Linked DNA regions of Homo sapiens: region 2 is linked to region 1. The links are contacts of gene promoters, found by promoter capture Hi-C in blood cells and fetal thymus (Javierre and others, 2016). All regions are on one chromosome and are shown on one strand. Each heading gives the region's core, a stretch centred on a gene start or on the middle of the fragment in contact. The rest is flanking DNA. Distances are from core to core; before and after follow the strand shown.

The links. Contacts are between HindIII fragments. The CHiCAGO score rates a contact against its expected background, and 5 or more counts as called.
Region 2: a fragment that was not itself captured here is called in contact with the fragment with the promoter of GSR in region 1 in 2 of 17 cell types (activated CD4 T cells and total CD4 T cells); the score reaches 5.8 in activated CD4 T cells.

What each region holds. Positions count from the first base shown.
Region 1 is chr8:30,726,570-30,729,269 of GRCh38, forward strand. GSR (glutathione-disulfide reductase) reads right to left here and starts at 1,277. Exons shown (of 13, transcript NM_000637.5): 1 at 961-1,277. The coding sequence starts at 1,266. It also overlaps a transcript of UBXN8 not described here. RefSeq lists enhancers at 175-862, 2,625-2,700 and silencers at 938-1,377, 1,448-1,537. The HindIII fragment of the contact is 11,618 bases long and covers 1-2,700 here.
Region 2 is chr8:28,095,555-28,098,254 of GRCh38, forward strand. It overlaps ELP3 (elongator acetyltransferase complex subunit 3), which reads left to right. Exons shown (of 15, transcript NM_018091.6): 2 at 1,665-1,764. Among named protein-coding and RNA genes, the nearest start is that of ELP3, 3.8 kb to the left of the region's middle. The HindIII fragment of the contact is 911 bases long and covers 878-1,788 here.

The DNA.
Region 1 (2,700 bases), core at 27-2,526:
GCAACATAGCGAGACCCCCATCTCTACAAAAAATAATAATAATTAACTAGGCGTGGTGATTAGCCCCCTGTAGTTCCAGCTACTCAGGAGGCCAAGGTGAGAGGATCCCTTGAGCCCGGGAGTTCGAGGCTGCAGTGAGCTATGATGGCCACTGCACTCTAGCCTAGGTGACAGGGCAAGACCCTGTCTCAAAAAACAAACACAAACAAAAACCCTTATTTTCAAAAATTATGAATTTTGTAAATCTCAGGATTTACATCCCTCTGTTTTTAGTTTTGCAATCCACATAAAACCAAGACAAAACAAAAGCTCTGAGAACTCACCTACTCAAGGTCGCCTTGGCTGCAATTCAGATCACCCGAAAATCCCAAAGCCCAGGCTGCACTTCAGACCAATTAAGTCGGGAAACATCCCAAAGCCCAAGTGCACCTCAGACCAATTAAGTCGGGAATCCAGGCACCCTCAGGTGATTCGAATGTGTAGCCAAGGTTGACAACAACCGCTATAAATCATTCTGCCCTTGAAACGGGAGAACCAGGATCTACATTTTTCAAGAACCAGGATCTATGGCACCGTCACCCTCGTCCCTACACACAGGCCACCAGCAATGTTCCCAGATGCAGTTTTGTGTTTCACGCGGTCAAGAACAGAATCCAATCCTCTCCCACTTGGACAAGTGAGGATGGAGGAAGGTTAATCTAACCCGCCCCGGCCCTGGTCAATATCGCATCCGTGCGGAAGCAGACGCTGGCTCGGCTTTGCGGGCCGCAGAGAAGCCCCCGGACGCCTCTCTCTCCTCCACCTGCTGGGTTCCTGGCTTCGGAATGGGGAGTTGCGGGGGTGGAAAAGAGGAAAGCCCAGCGCCGGGGGACAGGATCGCCATAGGAACGAGCACAGGCTGTCCCCCGAAAGACCGAGACAAAGAGGCGCCCCCCGCCCGAACAAACCGGCGGTACTCACGCAAGTGCCACCCAGCTTGTGGCTCTCCACCACGGCGGCCCTGGCACCCAGCTCGGCCGCCCTGCGCGCGCTGGCCAGCCCGCCCGAGCCGCCCCCGATCACCAGGTAGTCATAGGAGGCCACGGCGCCAGCAGCGGGCGGCGGGCCCTGCGGCTGCGGCTCCTGCCTGCAGGCCATGGCACGGGAGAGGGCGCGCGTGAGGGCCGCGGGCTCGGGCAGAAGCAGCAGGAAGCCTCGGAAGGCGCGCGCCGCCCGCCGCCAGCTCGGTCCCGCGCCGGCGCTCAGGGCTCGGGGCAGCAGGGCCATGCACGCGGAAGTGGCGCGCCAAGTGGGGCGGGCGGCCCGGGGGCGGTCCCCGGGGTAGGGGGGCGCGGGCCCCGGGCAAGCGCAGCCTCACGGTGACTAAGCATGCGCCCGCCGCTAGGCAAGACCCAGGAGGATGCCCAGAGGCGGGGCCGCCTCCCAGTTCCCCGCCCCGGTGGCGGAGCCTGAGGGGTTTCTCCGCCTCCGTTCTCACCCCGGCCCCTGGATCCCGAGCGGCGCCTGCCGCGTGTAGCCTTCTGAAGTCCGGTGGATCGAGGCGAGGAACGGTGAACGTCCTCTCGTTTCAGCTGGCTTTTCCCGAGCTGGCCCCCTGGGGAGTTGCCAGTGGCACGGCTTCTCCAGGAAGAGAAATTTGCCTCTATTCGAAGGGTTGTTTGTCCAGGTTTGTTCCAGAGACCACTTTTGTTTGTTCTTGCTTTTTCTTTGAGACTGGGTCTCACTCTCCCCCAGGCAGGGGTGCAGTGATGCGATCTCTGCTCACTGCAGCCTCCACCTACTGTGCTCAAGCAGCGATCCTCCCTCCTCAGCCTTCCCGGTAGCTGGGAACTACAGGTGCCCGCCACAGCGCCCAGCTAATTTATTTATTTATTTATTTAATTTTTTTTTTTATTTTTTTTATTATTTTTATTTTTTTTTTAGAAATAGGGTCTCACTATGTTACCAGGACTGGTAGGGAACTCTTGGCCTCAAGCGATTCTCTCACCTCGGCCTCCCAAAATGCTAGGATTATGGTATGAGGTCACCACTTCTCCTGTTGTCCTTCTCAGTTTCTCCCCAACCTCCCCTTTTCCCTAGTTTATAAGACAGGAGAAAAGGGAGAAAGCAAAAAGTTGGAAAGAAACAGAAGTAAGATAAATAGCTAGACGACCTTGGCACCACCACCTGGCCCTGGTGGCTAAGATAATAATAATATTATTAACCCCTGACCAAAACTATTGGTGTTATCTGTAAATTCCAGACATTGTATGAGAAAGCACTGTAAAACTTTTTGTTCTGTTAGCTGATGTATATAGCCCCCAGTCACGTTTCCCACGCTTACTTGATCTATTATGATTTTTTCACGTAGACCCCTTAGAGTTGTAAGCCCTTAAAAGGGCTAGGAATTTCTTTTTCGGAGAGCTCGGCTCTCAAGACGCGAGTCTGCCAACGCTCCTGGCCGAATAAAAAACCTCTTCCTGCTTTAATCTGGTGTCTGAGGAGTTTTGTCTGTGACTCATCCTGCTATATTTCTTGGTTCCCTGACTGGGAAGCGAGGTAATTGACGGACAGTCGAGGCAGCCCCTTAGGGGGCTTAGGCCTGCCCTGTGGAGCATCCCTGCGGGGAACTCCCGCCAGCTTGAGCGACGCGGATCCTGCGAGCGCTCCTGGGTAGGCAATTGCCCCGGTGGAACGCCTAGTCAGAGCAGTGCGTGGCAG
Region 2 (2,700 bases), core at 83-2,582, 2.6 Mb before region 1:
TAGCCTTTGAGTATAGATGGACTTTATTTCTCTCAAAAATTGTTGTGTATATGTTAGCCTTGCCTCATTAAATTAGATGCAGTGTGTTACAGTGAAAAAAGCATGGAAGTTGTGGTGAAAAGAGCTGGATTTGAGTCTTGGCTCTGCTGTTTACGATAGCTTGTTAACTTGCCTTAGCCTCATTTTTCACATCTATAAAATGGGATAACAGTACCTACCCTCCGTGTTACTGTAAGGGTTCAAATGAGATAAAGTAAATGTGTGGGCTCCATAATTGCCAGGGCCTTCCATCCACGCTTTCATTATGTTTTAGCTTTCTCTGCAGTGTGAGTCCTCAGCCCCCTGGGCCACGGACCAGTACCGGTTCATGGCCTGTTAGGAGCTGAGCCAGACAGAAGAAGGTGAGCAGCAGGCGAGCAAGTGAAGCTTCATCAGTATTTGCAGCCACTTCCCATCACTCATGTTACTGCCTAAGCTCTGCCTCCTGTCACATCAGCAGTGGCATTAGATTCTCAAAGGAGTCTGAACCCTGTTGTGAACCGTGCATGTGGTGGGTCTAGGTTGTGTGCTCCTTATGAGAATCTAATGCCTGATGATCTGTCACTGTCTCCCATCACCCCCAGATGGGAGTGTCTAGTTGCAGGAAAACAAGCTCAGGGTTCCCACTGATTCTATGGGAACAGAATTCGTTATGGTGAATTGTATAATTATTTCATTACATATAACAATGCAGTAATAAAAATAAAGTGCACAATAAATGTAATGCACTTGAATCATCCTAAAACCACCCTGCTCCCCTGGTCTGTGGAAAAATCATCTTCCATAAAACCAGTTCCTTTTATCAAAAAGGTTGGGAACCACTGCTCTACAGGTGAGAAGCTTGCTTGCTGACAGCTTCCAAGCTGATATCCCACAGCTTTTGTCCCTGGAAAAAGACTGGCATTTTTTACCTTGAAGAAAAGAGCTCAGATTGGCCTGGCTTAGAGATATGCCCATCCTTGAACCAATCCTTGAACTGTGCTTGAGTGGATGGCGTCATACAAGAACCTGTCAGCTTCTGCTGTTGCCTTTGGATGAGACCGAGAGCCCCAGTTGCCAGAAGTTCATGATGGTGGACAGACAATATTTTAGAAATGCATTAAGATTCTTAGGCAGATACCTGGGTTTGAGTTTCAACTTTACTCCTTGATAGCATCTTCATGTAACAGGCACATATTCTTGTTCTGTCTACCTCTGTTCTGAGAATTACCTGAATTCATGCATCTAAATGTTCTTTATGAACTCTAAAGTATTATGCACATATTAGTAATTACACCTCTGGAGATAAAGGGAAGAGAATTACTTTGGTCCTTTCCTGTGTGATTAAGTTCTTTCTCCTCACATTGTTTCTACTCCTGTATCCTTTCCTGTATTTATTTTTAATAATCTCATAGAGTATGTGCTTCTAAAGGGAGCTTTTCCCATATATATGTAAAGCCACGTTTGTTTTAAAGATACAAAAGATATGATCAAATTGTAAACAGTAGAGATTTAGCATCTTCTGAACTTGAGCTATTCATTTGGCATATTTGTATGGTTTCGGATGGAAAACTGCTACTAAATCAGATTTTAAAATCTTGATTGAATGATACGATTTTTGACATTGTTGAATATTAACTTTCCAGGAGATCTCAGCCCTGCTGAGCTGATGATGCTGACTATAGGAGATGTTATTAAACAACTGATTGAAGCCCACGAGCAGGGGAAAGACATCGATCTAAATAAGTAAGTGGATATAAAGAGAGAGCAAGCTTGTTCTTAGGTAGCAGATCTCTTTTATGAAATTATCTAGTACTACTTGTTTTCCAGCTCAAGTTTTATTTTAGTTGAGAATTTTAGCTTTCTGCCTTGCCTTGTCATTCATTTCTTTTTTTTTTTTTGCAAGTTCCGCCTCTGGGGTTAACGCCATTCTCCTGCCTCAGCCTCCTGAGTAGCTGGGACTACAGGCGCCCGCCACCACGCCTGGCTAATTTTTTGTATTTTTAGTAGAGACGGGGTTTCACCGTGTTAGCCAGGACGGTCTCGATCTCCTGACCTCGTGATCTGCCCACCTCGGCCTCCCAAAGTGCTGGGATTACAGGCGTGAGTCACCGCACCCGGCCGTCATTCATTTCTTGATGGCAAAATTGTCTCAGCTTAAGAATACTAATAGCTTCTAACATTTATTGGGCACTTACTGTATTCCAGACACTGTTGCTAATGCATTGTATGTATTAGCTCAGTTAATCCCCTCAAAATTCTGTGAGATAGGTACTGATACCAGCCACACTTGACAGGTGGGTAATCTGAGTCAGAGAGCAGTTAAATAATTTGTCCAGGGGTAAGTAACTAGTAATTGGCAGAGCTGGGATTTGGAATTAGGTCAGCCGTCTCCAGAGCCCATGTTCTTCTGTGCTGCATCGCTGCACATCCTACTTTCCTTCCCTACTGTCTCAGCTGAAGCAGCAGCTTTCTGTCAGGAAAACCCTCCCTTTGGGGCCCCTGATCTAATCCAACCCTCCCCTGCTGTAGAACCTCTTTGACACATTCATCCACTTCCTCTCCATAATCATTTTCAGCTTGGACTTTCCTACAGTCTCAAATAAGAGTTGTCTTTCATCTCTGCATCTATTTTTTTTTTCAAACTATAATATATATTCACTCTATGTAGATCTTCCCTAA